Linked DNA regions of Homo sapiens: regions 1, 3 and 4 are each linked to region 2. The links are contacts of gene promoters, found by promoter capture Hi-C in blood cells and fetal thymus (Javierre and others, 2016). All regions are on one chromosome and are shown on one strand. Each heading gives the region's core, a stretch centred on a gene start or on the middle of the fragment in contact. The rest is flanking DNA. Distances are from core to core; before and after follow the strand shown.

Region 1 (4,335 bases), core at 479-2,978, 190 kb before region 2:
CTTCTAAAATAGCAATTCTCAAAACTTCTGACCTCAAAATTATTGAAGACCCAAAAATGCCTGTTTATCTGGATTACATTCAGTGATATTACTATTTTAGAAATTTAAAATGAGAAACGTAAAAGAATACACAAGCATATATTCCATTAGCCATCAGCATAACGTCTTCACATGTTATTCAGCCTCTAGAAAACTCCACTGTACACTACTGAAAGAAAAGAGAAAAAATACAAATAACACCTTAGTCTTTCTAATGAAAAGAGTGTTCACCCAAGAGTTCCCAGGTTACACTGGGAATGCTATAAAACAAGTAATTCTGACCCCCAGAAAGATAGGTGAACTATACATTTTAAAATTTTAATTAGTCTCAGATGTAACACGCAAACATCATGTATTTAAACTGAAAGAAAAGTGGCATATAGCAAACCAAATTGCCAGAAGCGACATTCCTACACTTAGTCTTTTTTGTTTTTCCATTTTGTCAGGCAAACGTTTTGACAGTTGGGCCAAAATTCCTAAACAGGATGATAACAACGTAACCATCTGCTAGCATTTACTAAAAAATACTTCTCGAGTATACACTAGACTGGCTTTTCAACGTTTCAATGGTAAGAACTAATCCCAAATGCTTTTGTTATCCATATTTTACCATCTTTTCAAAGTTTTCAAAATAATCACTTAAAAAGTCACTTTCAAGTATCTCTCCACGTTTTTAAAACCCCCAGTGATATGTAATTTTACCTGAAAGTAATTTACCTACAATTTTTTAGAGATAGGTGTTTCATCAATACTGTTTATGCTTGCAAACAAGAAAAACTATCCAAAGGAACTGACTCAGTATCTAAACCTTTTGTGTCACGTTTTCACTTTTGGAAGACGCACATAAAACACTAACAGGTTATTAGACAACAAATAAGTTAATTTAAAACAGGGATTTATTGAGACTTTCTCAAGAAATCTCACTTTCCAAACTGGCCTACTGTCGCACATTCCTTCACACAGGTGAATCTTTTCGTTATGTTTTTGTAATGGGCTTCAAATCAATCTAAATCTGTCAGGATGGCCCCACAATCTTAAACACCCACCCTACAGCGACCTGCCCCGCTCTCCCTAAGTGACACTGTCTCGGGGGGTGGGGGGGGCGCTCTCCTACCCATAGGACACCAGGCCGGCTTCGGCACTTAATGCCCGCCAACGCCAGAGATGGGCCTGACACTTAGGCAGCCTTGCAAAGTAGAGGACACACAGAAGTTCACAGGTAAGTACGATCTGCACAGCGGAGAGGAGGAGCGAGAAAGGGAGAATGACAATAGCGAGGGAAGGCGAGGGAGAAAACGGAATAGGCCGAACACAAAGAGAGTCGGAGCCGGGGAGAGCCTCGTCCTCTCCTAAGCGGGGAGGCCCCCCGGCCTACACCCCCGCCCACCGCGGCGCGGTCCTGGCCCCCAGAGTCCGGCTGCCTCACGTACCTCCGGCGCCTGCTCCTCCGCTCGCTCCCAGGGCGGCCGCCATGGCACTCGCGGGGCCCGGCCTTCAGCCTCCCCCACCAAGCCAGCTGGTGGGCCGACGTGCCTGGTCCGGGCCCGGGTACGGGTGACGGAGGACAGAGAAGGGAGGGGGCTGCAGGAGGCAGAGGCGAAGCCGGGCGCTTCGCGGTCCACAGCTGGCCCTTCGCCTCCGCAGGAAGAAAACAACAAACTACCGCAACATGGCCGCGCGCCCGCGCCCGCCGCGGTGCACCCTGGGATGATGGAGGCCGGGAGGCGGGCGGGCGCCGGGGCCTGCCCCCGCCGAGGCCGCAGCAGCCCTGAGGCCGCCGCCGTGTTTCGGGCGGTGGGCGTGCAACGCAAACACGCGGCAGTCACCTCCGCCCGGCTCCTGAAACCCAAATGTTTGAAGCAGGGCGGGGACGACTGCTGGCCATAGGTCGATTCCGGGTTCAGTCGTAAGGCGCTTTGCAGCAGTCGGCAAAGCGAAGCTTTACGGCAGCCCGTCTCCCGTTAGGAGCCGGGGAGGCAAGGTCCAGCGTACGGTCCGGGGGAACCTTAACTGTCGTTTCTGTGCCTGGACAGTAGGTTGGAGAGTGGGGTCTGAATGAGCTACAGTAGTGAACGCCGACGGCTTGTGTTGAGGGCAGGAAAGGGTGCACACAGCTCCGGCAGGTGCTTCCGCGAGGTGAGATGAGTGCCGCGCGCGCCGGGCTAACGTGCACGCGCACTCGTGCGGCGCCCGCGAGCCCTCACTTCCTACAACCCGAGACCCTCCGGACCCGCGACCCCGGACCCCCGTCCCCTTCTCCGCGCCCGGCTGGGCAGCGGGCAGCGCCGGACCCTGATGGGCTCTCGGCCCTTACTGCCCCTGCGCCTTGCGGCCCTGAGAACAAGACGTGAGCAGGACGGATAGCGCCCGGCACTCATGTCTGAGTTTGCATTTTGAGCAGTGAGAAAGGTTAAGAAACGAAATCCTCATACTTGACATAAAGGAAAGGGTGCTGGGTGGTCAGACAGCTGTGGACGAAAGGGCTCAGGGGTTTTGGGGTGTGGGGCCCGGGAAGGCGCATCTGAGTGGTCGCAGTCGGGGAAGGGGGTTGATTAAGTACACACCGGCTGTAAACATTGATTCCATATCGGTCAATGTGGGGCTTAGGTGAGGCGTTCTGACCCAGCAATGAAACTGGAAAGGTAGGCAGGGGCCAGGATTCCGGACTTTGGGACGTTTTTCTGAGTCTATGGGGTCTATTGAAAGATTTTAGAAACAATTTACATGGTAAGATTTGTATTTTAGAAAGGTGACTGATACAACAACGTAGAGGACCCTGCAATGTGGAGAGGCATGAAACTGGAGGTCCAGTGCCGTGAGTTAACAATCAAGACGTCCATACAGGAGATGCATTGGTGGATGGGTGAAGAGATGATAAAACGGTACGTATAATAAAATGCTGGCCGGGCGCGGTGGCTCACGCCTGTAATCCCACCACTTTGGGAGGCTGAGGTGGGTGGATCACGAGGTCAGGAGTTTGAGACCAGCCTGACCAACATGGTGAAACCCCGTCTCTACTAAAAATACAAAAATTAGTTGGGCGTGGTGGCACGCGCCTGTAATCCCAGCTACTCAGGAGGCTGAGGCAGGAGAATTGCTTGAATCGAGGAGGCGGAGGTTGCAGTGAGCCGAGATTGCGCCACGGCAATCCAGCCTGGGTGACAGAGCGAGATTCTGTCTCAAAAAAAAACAAAAAAATTATTCAACTGTGAGAACTCACTCCCCAAAAAAAATGTTTTGCAAGCAACTCATTGAAAAATGGTCTCTATTAAAAAGCACGTTAATACATCCATATTTAAATGGCTTGAACTCTTTATCACCTTTCATTATTTTTTGAACTGTGGAGGATGGCATGCCTAACTCAGAAAATATTTTTCAGGATAATTCAGTGGTGATCTTCAGAAGAATTCCACAAAAAACCAAATTAACAGATGAAACAATCTCATAAGCCACTTGAAACTGAATTTCTCTAGAACAAGAGTCTATAAAATTTTTTGATCAAACACCCACTGGAAAAATTTTTTAGCGTGGACACCCAGTATTTGAAGTTCTTGGTAAATTACTGTGAGTAAAGATTTAACCAACCCCTTGTCCTTATCTATGAACAAACTTCACTTTGTGTTAACTTTAACTTGTCATAGAAACCTTATGAAGGCAGAGTGTTCATTGTGGTATAAAACAACATTGGTTGTAGGCCAGGCGCGGTGGCTCACGCCTGTAATCCCAACACTTTGGGAGGCCAAGACAGGTGGATCACCTGAGGTCAGGAGTTCAAGACCAGCCTGGCCCACATGGCAAAACCCCATCCCTACTAAAAATACAAAAATTAGCTGGGTGTGGTGGCACATGCATGTAATCCCAGCTACCTGGGAGGCTGAGGCACAAGAATCACTTGAACTCAGGAGGTGGAGGTTGCAGTGAGCCGAGATCACACCACTACACTCCAGCCTAGGTGACAAGAGTGAAACTCCATCTCCAAATAAATAAATAAAACATTGCTCATGGTAAAAATGACCTCTGACATGTAGACTGCCTCTGGCTTGAAAGTACTGAATAATCTTAAAACACCTAGTGGGAAGCCATACCTTTAGCCTCTGTTACTGTCTTAACTGAATGTGGGAATCTAAAAGACAAACTCAGGGAACTGGTTTCCCGCCGGTCAAGGACTTCCAAGCCAAGCCCCCACCCATAATGGTTTGCTCCTGAATTGCATTTGGGCCAAAGAGTAGAGCTCTTCCATGCCTGTACCGCAGTGAAGTGTGTTTCTTCTCCTCAGTCCTCCAAAGTGGAGCTGCT
Region 2 (4,423 bases), core at 158-2,657:
GTCTGGGGTGGGCTGGGGCATGCGTCCCCGGCCTGGCCTGAGTTGGAAGATCGTAGGGAAGGGGATGAGAGTGTGCACTTCCGGGCCCATCTTCCAGCCACCACGTTCCCACCAAAAAAAACTACAGTGGGGGAGACATGGGCTAGGGGCTGGGAAGAGATGCGCCAAGGCGGGGTGGAAGACAGAGAGGGGAGACAGGGAGAGAGGAAGGAGAGAGAGAGACAGAGAAAGAAAGAAGGTCCCTTCTGCGGTCCTAAGAAGTCTGTACCCCCTAGCGAATCAGTCCTGCCGCTGGACTCCTGGCCGCTGCCCGGGCCGGCGTCAGCTTCACACAATGTCGCGTGAGTCTTTGTGCGTGTGCGCGGGGGAGGTTCGAGATGTTTTCCTCCCGGTAAGTTCCCGCGCCAGCACCGCCCCCCAGCTCCGCGGGCCTCCCCGCGGCGAGCCGGGACGCGTGGTCCCCGCGGGCTCACCTGAAGAAGGCCGGTCCGAGTAGCGCGTACAGTAGACCCACGCCGGCCAGAGCATGGGCTGCGCGCCCAGGTTGGCGCCGGCTTGCGAGCTGTCCGAGTCCGAGCTCACCGACAGGTCGCCGCCGCCCAAGCCGCGGGCCTTGAGCGACCCGTCCAGGGGGCCGCCGGGGTCGCCGCCTTTCTTGGCGCCACCGTGCAGCGAGAGCGTCTTGGAGCCGCCTTCCCCGTCACCCGGAGAGTCGCTGCCGGCGGCTGGGAGCGGCCCGCCCGCGCCGGGCGCACATGGCGGGTTCTGCCGGGGCTCTCGGGAGCCCGAGCCCAAGAGCTGCTCCGAGCCGCCCGCGCCGCCGCCTCCCTCCGCACCGCTCGCGCCGCCTTCGCCGCCGGCTCCGCCGCCCCTTCCTCCTCCCGCGCCCGCACAGCAGGTCCCCGCGTCCTTTCGCCGGCCGAACTCGGGCCGCAGGATGTTGTCGATGAAGAAGTTGGTGATGCGGTGCGGGTGCTGGTGGTTGCCGGGCGCCTGCAGGACCGCGGGCAGCATCAGAGCCCGCCGGCGCCCGGTGTCCGCTTCGCCCGGGCTGCTACCGCCGCCGCCGCCCGAGCCGCCGCCGGGGCTGGATTCCGGCTGCCGCTGTCCCTCCACCGCCGCCGCTGCTTCGCCAGGCTTGGGGTCATTCTCCTCCATGCTGTTCACAGTAAATCCCACACTGGTTCTCCGGGGACGCCCTTCCAAATCAGCCTTCGGCCCTCCCGCGGCGCACACGGAGACCCCCGCGCCCCCACCCCGCCGAGTCTTCCGAGGGCGTGCGCGGCGGCCGCGGCCAGGGCTGAGGTCCTACAAGTCGCCGGCCGCGCTCGGCGCGGAGCCACCTTTGAATCCACGAACTGGGTTAGAAACACCACGAGCCGCCCCGCTCGCCCAGACGATGAGAGATTCAACAGAGCCAAGTCCTCGACTTCGCCGCGCAGCCGGGGTCTAGACAGTCGCAGTGGTCCGGCGGGGACGCGGGCCGCCTCCCGGGCTCCCCGCTCCTCTCCGCGTCCGGCCGCCTCGGGCTCCGGCGCCGCCGCCTGGGCCGCCCGGGGCGAGAGCTGCGCGCATGCAGGCAGCGCGTTCCCCGGCGCTCACGCCCGCCCGGGCCGGCTCCGGCCGCCGCCGCCGCCCGGCCGTCCCCGCCCGCACGCCCTAGCCGGCCCTCGAGGGTGCCGGGCGCCCGCGGTCAGCGCGCCCGCCACCGCCCGCACGCACATGGAGGCCCCCTCCTCGCGGCCGCCGCCCCGCTGCGGGCCGGGGCGCCCCACCGGCGTGCGGCCGCGCCCCCGCCGAGCCCCGCAGAGCTCCGCGGCCCGAGTCGCATGGGTGAGAGACGCGAGGCCAGGGCCCGGCCGGGCCGGGCTGGGCCGCCCGCGCTCCCCGGCCGTCCGCCGCCCTCGCCGCCTCGGCCTCCGCGCGGGCTCGGAAATTTCCAGGCCACTCGGCGCAACCTGAGACACTTTCACTCTGGATTTTTGTTCTTATTTTTAACAGAGCCCCCTCGAGTGACGTCGCAGGCCGGTCTCCTGGACACGTGCCTCGGGCCAATGGCCGCGGCGCCGCGCGCCCACGTGACGCTCCGGCCGCCGCTGGGTGACAGGAGCAGCCCGCCGCCCCTCCTCCCCTTAAAGCGGCCGCGTCCCCCGCTCCGGGTGCGGGAGCCCAGGAACCCGGAGAGACCCCCGACCGCGTCTCCTGCGCTCGCCCGCGCTTTCCCTGTCGCTTCGCGGTTCAGGGGTGTGAGTCACCCGGCGACAGCCCCGCCAGGTCACCCCGGGGCGCGTAGGTGGACACGCACAGGAAGATCGCTATTTTTAAGATTTCCATATTGTTTACCGTGGGGCGAAATCCCACAATTCCTTGCACAAAATGCATAAATAATATTAAATGAGCTGCCGAGATACAAAGGGACTTTTGTGGTCCGCTTTCCTTGCTGATGGAGAGGAATAGTGTCACTCCCATTTGACTCGGTAACCCGGCAGCTTCCTGTCTTAAACGCAGAGCTGGCGCGCAGGACACTCCTCCTGCAGACACTTATTGTAAGTGTGCGTGTGTGTGCGTGTGCAGGGAGGCGCGTGCATACGGCCGCATTCCACCCGGGGACAGCGACCCTCATGAAACATGCTTAGCGATCCGAAAGAGCGGGGGAATGCAGTATGCGGCTCCATTTGCGAAGGGAGAAATCCAGGAGCCTCGGAGGTTCTAAAGGAATCCTTTTTGCCAAGGAGAGGAGGGGTGACTGTTCAGCTAAGACTTCAAAACCAAGTCGCCCGCCCCCCTCTAACTTCTCTACTCTGATTGAGGAGCTCCCAGACCGGTCATCTCGTTTTCTTTGTTTTAAAATCCTTTAAACTAATTTTGCCGGAGAGCAGGGCCCATTTGAAACGAGAATTAGGAATCCAACGGCAAGGGTGGGAGCCCCAGTTGGTTTCTCCCCTCCTCTCTCTTCATCTTTTCTAGACTTTCCTTCCAGCTGTTGTCAGAATGTCCAACTGGAAGTTCTGTTTCCTCTTCTCTTCCCCCTCCTCCCTCGGGCTCCTTCCCATTTGCTCTTGTCTACCCACCAAACACCCGTTGTTACCCCAGGCTCGCCTGTCCATCATTTAAAATGCATTTTTATGGAAATGTGTGAATTCCTGGAAACATCCGATAGGGCAGCTCTGGGGGTGCGGGAGCATTTGCACGCCATGAGTACCCTCAGTGCGGGGGAGGCGGGGAGGCCGCAGCCTGGCACGGACACCCTAGGGCTGATTGGCCCTGGGCAGCTGCACCGTGCTCAGCAACCCAGACCCCCGCAGAGGCAGCCAGCAGGTTGCTGCCAGGCCCTGAGTGAACTTGGGGAGTCTGGCAAGCATCTCCGAGGCAGCGTGGCCTGCCAGGCCACCTGGGGCCTGAAGGTTGCACCCTGGCCTTGCGAAGCTCCTTCCCCAGTGTCCATCCCACGTGCTGTCCTTCCCCTGCAGGCTTCAGAGTGCTGGCTGGGCTGGGATGAGAAACGACAGTTCCCACAGCTGCTCCCAGGAAAATTACCCCCCCACCCAGGACGGGAATGGTGGGGGAGGAGGTGCTGGGCTGGCCTCCTGGCCACTGGACGTGGCTCTGGTCAGAGTGTGCCCTCTGTCCGGTGTGTCTAGGGCAGGGTGGGGAAGCCTCTTCTCGCTGGGGCTGGATTCCTCCACTTTTTCTTCATTGGAGGAGTCCTTACCAAATGTTCTGGCTAGGCACACATCTGCCAGGGGTCCTCCCCGAGTCTCAAAAAATCAAACCCCACAGTCTACCTGCCCCCCGGGAAAATAGGGCTGGTGAGAGTTTGTGGGAAGTCTTATTGACGCTTACTTGGTTTTTTGGGGGGAGAATTTTCTGCAACTCTGGAAACTCTGATGATCACCAGTCAGGAAAGGGAGGGTCCAACGACTCTGGGTCTCCTGAACATGATATTGGGGGGAGGAGGGGCCCTGAGCTCTTTGGTTCCTGCAAAACCATCCCAGGTTAATGGCTCCACCTGTCCCATGAAAGCCAATTAGGCGGCTTCCTGAGAAGTATTTTCTGAATTCTTGGGACTCTTTGCCTCTGACTGCCTCAGTATAAATGGCCCCAAGACGCTGGGCTTCAGCCCTGTGCTTTCCTGCGACCCAGACCCCAATTCGTGGCTGCAACAGAGACTCTGGGAAGCAGAGCGTCACCTCCAGGGCGCCTGGCGGGCCGGTGGGCAGAGACCTGCCCTCGCAGGGTCTGCGGGCTGGGCCCTGGGGTTGGCTGGAGGAAGAGGAATTCGTGGGTCGCTCTCCTGGAAAGGAGGAAGGTGAGAGGTGGAGGGAGGAATAGGAGAAAGAGAAATAAATGAAGAGAGAGATAACTAGAGGGTACCGGGCCCCCCAGAGTGGACCCAAACACGAAACAACTCTGGGAAAGCGGT
Region 3 (4,078 bases), core at 140-2,639, 220 kb before region 2:
ATCTTGCTTCCTGATTATAGATAACGAATTATATGTGACATTTCCTAAACTAACCTCCAATCTCTTTATTCAGGTTTAGACAGTTCTCATCTACAAAAAGGATGAATGAACAGGACATCAATCACTCTGGAATATTAGCACCTTAAAGATGTCTTTAGCAGGTCAATAATCTTTTCGCCTTAGAAGGACTTTATCAGATCTTGTCTAAAGCCAGGATAAAAGCTCTGCATTAAGTACTCCTAACAATTGACAGTGTATCCCCACCACACAAAGCTGTTTTCTTCCTTAGGGTACAATCCTCAAGGTCACGATTCTTTGCAGCCTTCCAGAATGACAAAGGAGCATTACCTCTGGTCAAACAAGCTGTCAACACAAACTTTGTCATAGCTCAGATAAAGAAACTGGCAGAGAGTGATAATAAGGTCTAATTTCCCCTCCCTCCCAGGGGAGGTAAATAGATTTCAAATCAGTCTAGAAGCCTATGCATGGGAAGCCAGGTTATCTTTGGCCATACAAAGGAGAAAAGACTCACTGTAAATTCATCTAAAGGTTCATTGATCTCGATGTCTAACACTTCATCAGTGTAAAGCTGCTCCTCCTCTGGCTCTTCCACATATTCTATTTGGTCTTCTGTCAACTCAGCTTCGTGGCCTTCATACTGTCCTTCTTCTGGGTACTCTTGAGTATACAATTCTGATCCATCAGATTTGTGATAAACCAGTTCATCCTCTCCTTGTTCTTGTTCATACTCAGATTCCTGTTCTCCAGATTGGTCGTTAGTGTTGTCAGAGAGTTCAAATGATGTAACCATGCCAGATGTAGCATTCAGACTAATTGTAACACCCTGAGAACTAGAGAGGACGAAAATAAAAAAAAAAAGCACCCAATGAAGAGAGGAGCTCAAACTAAATCATTATATAAATAGCTGTTACAAAGATTTAAACCATGACTGATAAAAAGTTATTCCAGTTACTGACAAATGCACATTAACTCCAACAGTACTCAAAATGCTATACAGAGCCAGTGCCCTAAACCCTTAATGCGTACAGCAGAGCTAACTGTGCTATATGGAGCCGGCCACAGACTGGCAATGCATATAGCCCCTCTACTTATCACCAGCTGCAGGTTATTTGACCAAATGAATTAAATCAACCACAGATGAAACACATCTGAGTGGCAAAAGTCCAAGACTGAAATCAAATAGCCTATATTTCATTCTAATTTACAAAATGAAATAGACAGAAACTGCTAAGAGTTCAAAGTAAAAACAGGAGTATTATTCTATAAGGAGAAAATCAGAATCGGAATTTTAAGAACAATTTTTTTCTTACATCTGTGATAGAAATTATAAACTCCTGTTTAAGAAAATCAAAATATTAAAAATTTGTGTGAAAATACATTTCAGTGTTCAAATAAATAAATTTATATTAGTCACAAATATCTTTAAAAATTGTTCATAATTTCTAAGTAAAATAACAAAGGTTTTGAAACTGCAAAAAAAACATGTTCCACCTATTAAATCACAACAGTTAAATACCAAACAATAAGGTGCAAGATAACATTTCCCATGTAAGATCGTGCAAATCTGTGTTCACACATAGCACTCAATCCTAACAAAAAATTAATACACCTCTTAGACTTCAAGATACTGTGTCTAAAAAACTTCAATGATGTATTTCTAAAAGACAATCTAACTCAAAAGATTAAAATATAACAGTGATGTCAAAGAATGGAATTGGGAAATTTATCTGACTGGTAGAATAATTTAAAACTTATTTTTACCTGTAAAAATTACTTTATGTTAGAAAATCTGTTACAAATCCATGGCTCAATAATAAATGGCATATATTTGTTAATTACATTTATAACAAGAGCTTGTCTACATTTTCCCGATGTTTCCTCATAAAATAAAAACTATTATTCCACCTACCAGTGTGTCTCTCCTCTTTTAATATAGCTTACTATATGTCAACAGAAAGACATTCATCGTATCAGTCAACTAGAGTCTAAAGTAGCACCTCCCAAAGTGCCCAAAATGGTAATTCAGTAAATGATCTAAATCAACTGGCTAAAATGAAGACAAATGCAGCAGTATCGAACTGCAATGGTGTTGAGAGTCCCAAGCCACTGCCCTCCATCCGAGTAGAGGAATTCTTTAGAAAAGCAGCATATATCCATACTAAATCTTCATAACCTGCACTGAACAGAACTCACAGGGATCATTAAATGAAAGACCTACTGATTTTTTGTTTTTTGTTTTTTTTTTTTTAAGACGGCGTTTCACTCTGTCTCCCAGGCTGGAGTGCAGTGGCACAATCTCGGCTCACTGCAACCTCCACCTCTGTGGATCAAGCAATTCTCCTGCTTCAGCCCTCCAAGTAGCTGGGACTATAGGCGCGGGCCACTACGCCTGGCTAATTTTTGTATTTTTAGTAGAGACAGGGTTTCACCATGTTAACCAGGCTGGTCTCAAACTCCTGACCTCAAGTGATCCACCTGCCTCAGCCTCCCAAAGTGCTGGGTTTATAGGCACGAGCTACAACGCCTGGCCAAGAACTGCTTATTTTAAACAGCTGCTCTGTTTACAGAACATCCATATGGCTTCTACAGTTATTACTAGTATTCCATTTAGAATGTAATCATGTGTTAAAGATATAAGGCTACATTATTCAATTACATTCCATTATAATTATAAATAACAGTTCCTATCAATTTAGTTAAATAAAGAACATTTATAATGAGGTAATATTGAGTACCTGAAATTTTCTTCATCTTCATTATCACTCTGCAAAAGATCATCATTTAGCTCTTCATCTGACAAATCCGACTGATTCTAATTAAAATAAGAAATATAATTAATGTGTGTCACTTCCATAAAAAGACTTGTTAAAAAGCACAAAATTACACTGACTGAATTGTTCCTAGCCTTATATTAAAACGTTTGCCACCCGGAAGGCTTTCTGGTCACCAGTGGATAATCAAGAAATCCCACACAAGGCATGTGGATCCCTCCTGGGCTCAGCTTCAGGTGCCCAGGCAAGTTAAATGTAAAAACACCAAGTGTAACGATCACATTTATTCTCACACAAAAGAGAAAAGGTAAGAAGTCCATTGGTGGAAGCTTACGAACAAATAATATTTCCTTATAATACACAAAAAAAGAAAGATATCCTTAAGGTACTACTAAATTTAACATGCTAATATCCAAAACCTAAAGATTTTTTAAACAACACAAAAAGTGTAATTTTAGAAATAAGATTTAAATAACTGAATCATTAAATTGAAATGAGACTATAAAACTTTGGTTTTTCCAGTACAGATCACGTATGAAAATAAATGTTAGCAGCTCAGTTCCCCACTCCTGTTCTTGATGGTACTCCTACCTATAAGGAGAGAGAGCCTAGCTATTCTGTCAAGAGTTCCAGGTTTTCTTAGGTTATATATATTTGAGCATCTTAGATTAGGTTGGGGGGGTGTTATTCACACTGTCTCACTACTTATTCACACTACTTCACACGTTCCTCCCTTTTTAAAATTACTTATATGTATAAATGGTATATGTAAATTACTACTCCCTTCACGAAAGCCAGTCAAAGCCACACACACACTGTCATTCACACATATTCATTCTTAAAAAGTAAAGACAGAAAAATCAACTTGCTTTTCTTCTTAAAGGTGAACAAACAAGCAGTCTTTTTCTGGTAGTTACACCTTATAAAAACTTACCTGTATACTTTATTACAGTATTTCTGATAGCCAAAAATAATCTTATTAGCACTTCTTAGTCGCACAGGACTCAACCTAATCACTGACACCACAATAAGATAAAAATAAAATAACACAGGATACATACTCAGTTTATTTGCAGAAGGGAGAACAGATATGTGTGATAACAAAACGGACTGCTTAACTGACAGAAAATGAAGTTTCTGGCTGGGCGCAGTGGCTCATGCCTGTAATCCCAACACTTTGGGAGGCCAAGGCAGATGGATCACTTGAGGTCAGGAGTTCAAGACCAACCTGGCCAACATGGTGAAACCCTGACTCTACTAAAAGTACAAAAAATTAGCCAGGCGTG
Region 4 (4,106 bases), core at 394-2,893, 240 kb before region 2:
GTAGAATTTTAAAGTACCAAAATCTCAGGATTTTTGCTGGTTTGATACCGTTATTTCTGTACTACTGAGTGTTTGAAATCAGAATGGATGCCTGCAAGGTACGTGCTGCACCACACTTCCCAACAGAACCAAAGCCAGCTTCCTTAGGACGTCTATTCTCCGCTCCCATGATGCTCTAGAGCAGCACTTCTCCAATTCAATGCCCAGTCATCAGTGGGAATCATGTTGAAAAGCAGATTCTGACTCAGCCGATTCAGGATGGGGCCTGGGGTTCTGCATTTCTAACAAGCTCCCAGGTGACGCCAACATTTCAGGTCCACAGACTACACTGAGTAGAGTAGCAAGTCCAAAAGGGAGGAAAAGAAATCACTACCAACAAAGCAAAGATTCTACAAAGTCATCTTCAATTCAACTATTAACAACTGTAAGCACAGTTCAAAGACTTTCCAAACAAGTTTAATGTAAAACAAGACAGCACGGAAATTAATATAGCTTATTCTGCATCCAAATCTCCATCTAAGAAATCTAAAGAGGATAAAGATGAGTTGAAAATTGTTTCTTCCTAGATATTTACCCTAGAGAAATGATACCTTATGTTCAAATAGACCTATAGGAAAATGTTTATTCTATTCAGGATCACTACAACTGGAAACACTTAAATGTCCTTCAATGAATGAATGGATAAACTCTTGTACATCCAAACCACAGAATGCTACTTCGCAATAGGTCTATTGACATAACAGGGATAAAACCATAAAGGCATCATTATACTGAGTAAAACAAGTCAATCTCAAAGGGTTATACACTGCAATGATTCCATTTATATGATATTCTCCAAGGAACAAAATTACACTGGTAACCAGTGGTTAGGAAAGAAGGAAAGGTATGGCCACAAAAGGATAGCACAAGGAATATTTTTGAGTGATGGAACCATCCTAGAATGCAAACTTCTGGTCCAAATCTTGGGGCTCAGTTAATCCTTGAACTACATCAAAGATTAGGGAAACTAACCTGACAAACCACCAAACACGGCTGATAGCACTTGCTTAACTGCAGCCCATTTGACAACATCCACTAAGCTAGACTTAATTCTTCAGCCTCTTATTCTAAATATGGGGCTTAAAAAATCCATCCCCCTTCACCATATGGTTTAGAAAACTAACCTGTCTACCAAAACGTTGACCTCCTGTATAATTTTTTTTTTTCCCTGAGATGGAGTCTTGCTCTGTTGCCCAGGCTGGAGTGCAGTGGTGCGATCTCAGCTCACGACAACCTCTGCCTCCCAGGTTCAAGCAATTCTCCTGCTTCAGCCTCCCGAGTAGCTGAGATCACAGGCGTCCACCACCACGCCAGGCTAATTTTTGTATTTTTAGTAGAGACGGGGTATCACCATGTTGGTCAGGCTGGTCTCAAAATCCTGACCTCGTGATCTACCGACCTCGGCCTCCCAGAGTGCTGGGATTACAGGCCTGAGCCACCACGCCTGGCCTTCTGTATAATTTTTAACAAATATTACCTAGCATGCCATTGACAAGCTACATTCCACTGATGGGTAGTGTGCTGCTACAACATAAAAATCAAACTATCCTAAGATTATGTTGTGTAAACATTTAAATGTGCATGTAAATCTTTCATTTCACTATAGACATTGACAAAAATAGTCAAAGGTTTGATTTTTAGTTACTGATTTATTGTGAAAACCTGAAAGATTTATTTTTAATCCTTAATACAGACTGCATATGAAAATCACCATCAAAGTACTTAAAAAAACAGAGAGGTCCACTTAGGCTTTATTTCGTAAATGTAGAAAGAACTGGAAAAGCAAAGAGGGAAAAATACTCAGACTTGTATATATTTTGAAGTTCTCCAGCTAATTCTGAAATGAAAGTATGATCTCAGTGTTCTGAAAGAAAATTCAATATTCTATCCCAAAATCTAAACAGAAACAATGGGTAGTTCTCTGAAACACATACACCACACACACACACACACAAATCTATATATATAGAGAGAGAGAGAGTGCAAAAGAGAAAACATTGCTTACAAAAAGCTCACTAAGTTTTTAATGCTTATTGATAGAATTATTGATACATCATCAAATAAAAATGAAAGTCATTCTACCAACAGTGAAAATTTATGGGTTGGAAAGACTAAGCAAACTGTGCAAAAATTAGAAGAAAAAGAATTACAGACCAGTGTCCTTCATTAATACAGAAACAAAATCTTTTTTAAAAGTAAAAGTACACGGAATCTCACCAAATATAAAAAGGATAATACATCACAACCAAGTGGGGTTTATCCAGAAACATGACGTTAACACTCAAAAATCAGTCAAATCTTACCTGAAGAATTCCAAATCTATGGAGATACTCCTCCTCCTCCTCCTCCAGGAGGTGGGGCTTAAGTTGCTTTCCTCCCCTCTCCCCAGAACCCCATCCCTTAAGGTAGCCTACACTTAGTGACTTGTTTCCAAAGAACTGAATAAGGAAAGAGAAAGCAACATTACAATGAAGAAAACTGGCAGACACTGCTTGACCCAAATGACCAAGGTGGGCATTGCCAGGGGCGTTGTGGATGTCATGCGCCCAGTGGCACAAGGGTTCCATAGTGTTCTTTCCAAAATCCACAACCTCAAGCTAATCATGAAAAAAGCGTCAAACAAACTGAGATTGGGAGACATCATACAGCATACTCGGCCAGCACTTCCTAAAGCTGTCAAGGTCATGAAATACAGGGAAACACTAAGAAACTGTCACACAACAAAGGGGAATGGAGAGACAACGATGGGTTATGTGGCTTGGGTCCTAGACCAGTGAGAGGTCATGAAGAGAAAAACCAGTCAAATGGAAATAAAATCTGGAACATGGTTCATCATTTTTTTAAGTTAATTTAATTCACAATAAGGAATAAAAGCCATATAATTATCTCAATAGATGCAAAAAAGAAGCATCAACAAAATTCAATACCCATTTCTGATTTTTAAGAAAATCCCAGCAAACTCAAAATAGAAAAGACCTTCTTCAATCTGATATAAAAACGTACAGCTAGCATACTTAATGATGAAATAAACATTTTCCCCCTAACATCAGGAATAGGTAAGAATGTCTGTCCTGAATGTTTCTAGTCACAGAGTACCGGAGGTCAATGATACAAAAGAAAGAAAGAAATGGATATAGATTGAAAAGGAAGAATTTTAAAACTGTCATTATTAACAGGCAATATGATTATTAAGATGTTAGTGTCTCCCAATATGATTTAAAAACACTATCCATTCTCTATCAAAATCCTAACCAGACTTTTAAGTAGTTATTCACAAGTCCGTTCCACAATTTATACAGAAATTCAAAGGACCATGAATAGCCAAAATAATTAAAGGAAGAATAAAATTAGTGGATTTACACAACATGCTTTCATGTTACAGTAATCAAGACTGTATAGTACTGATATAGGGATACAAAAACAACAGAAACAACAGAAACAACAGAAAAGAGAACCAGAAAGAGACTAAAACCTAATTTTATTGTCAGGACAAGCACTGTGGCACTCCAAAGGGAAAGGAAAGTCATTACAACAAATAGTGGTGAACAATTAGAAAAACGTATGGAAAAAACGGAATCTCATACCACACACACACACACACGTGCGCACATATTGAGATAGATCATAATCTTAACTAAAATTAATACTGTAAAGTGTCCAGAAGAAAACAAGATAACAACTTTGGAGTAAACAAAGATTTCTTAGGTCACAAAATTCTTCATACTTCAACAAAATTAAAATTTTCTGCTCATGAAAAGACATATTTAAGAAAATGAGGCCAGGCATGGTAGCTCACGCCTATAATCCCGGCACTTTGGGAGGCCAAGGCGGGCAGATCACTTGAGGTCAGGAGTTCAAGACCAGCTTGGCCAACGTGGTGAAACCCTGTCTCTACCAAAAATATAAAAAATTAGCCAGGTGTGGTGGTACGTGCCTGTAATCCCAGCTACTCAGGAGGCTGAGGCAGGAGAATCACATGAACCCAGGAGGCAGAGGGTGCAGTGAGCCGAGATCATGCCACTGCACTCCAGCCTGGGCGCCAGAGTGAGACTCTGTCTCAAAGAAAA

Evidence for each region. Contacts are between HindIII fragments. The CHiCAGO score rates a contact against its expected background, and 5 or more counts as called.
Region 1: a contact is called between the fragment with the promoter of RBM33 here and the fragment with the promoter of EN2 in region 2, in 6 of 17 cell types (neutrophils, monocytes, fetal thymus and 3 more). The highest score is 24.8, in neutrophils.
Region 3: a fragment that was not itself captured here is called in contact with the fragment with the promoter of EN2 in region 2 in 1 of 17 cell types (neutrophils); the score reaches 5.2 in neutrophils.
Region 4: a fragment that was not itself captured here is called in contact with the fragment with the promoter of EN2 in region 2 in 1 of 17 cell types (neutrophils); the score reaches 5.0 in neutrophils.

Annotation. Positions count from the first base shown.
Region 1 is chr7:155,642,054-155,646,388 of GRCh38, reverse strand. It overlaps RBM33 (RNA binding motif protein 33), which reads right to left and starts at 1,728. Exons shown (of 18, transcript NM_053043.3): 1 at 1,470-1,728. The coding sequence starts at 1,512. RBM33-DT (RBM33 divergent transcript) reads left to right here and starts at 1,983. Exons shown (of 3, transcript NR_126344.1): 1 at 1,983-2,175; 2 at 2,785-2,921; 3 at 3,419-4,335. RefSeq lists a silencer at 1,401-1,910 and an enhancer at 1,835-2,789. The HindIII fragment of the contact is 4,649 bases long and covers 1-1,980 here.
Region 2 is chr7:155,455,113-155,459,535 of GRCh38, reverse strand. It overlaps EN2 (engrailed homeobox 2), which reads right to left and starts at 1,407. Exons shown (of 2, transcript NM_001427.4): 1 at 474-1,407. The coding sequence starts at 1,158. EN2-DT (EN2 divergent transcript) reads left to right here and starts at 2,418. Exons shown (of 3, transcript NR_186580.1): 1 at 2,418-2,546. RefSeq lists an enhancer at 1,754-2,745. The HindIII fragment of the contact is 14,368 bases long and covers 1-4,423 here.
Region 3 is chr7:155,677,363-155,681,440 of GRCh38, reverse strand. It overlaps RBM33 (RNA binding motif protein 33), which reads right to left. Exons shown (of 18, transcript NM_053043.3): 4 at 2,757-2,833; 5 at 533-851. Among named protein-coding and RNA genes, the nearest start is that of RBM33, 35 kb to the right of the region's middle. The HindIII fragment of the contact is 3,468 bases long and covers 1-3,123 here.
Region 4 is chr7:155,695,470-155,699,575 of GRCh38, reverse strand. All of the region lies in intron 5 of RBM33 (RNA binding motif protein 33), which reads right to left. Among named protein-coding and RNA genes, the nearest start is that of RBM33, 53 kb to the right of the region's middle. The HindIII fragment of the contact is 7,040 bases long and covers 1-4,106 here.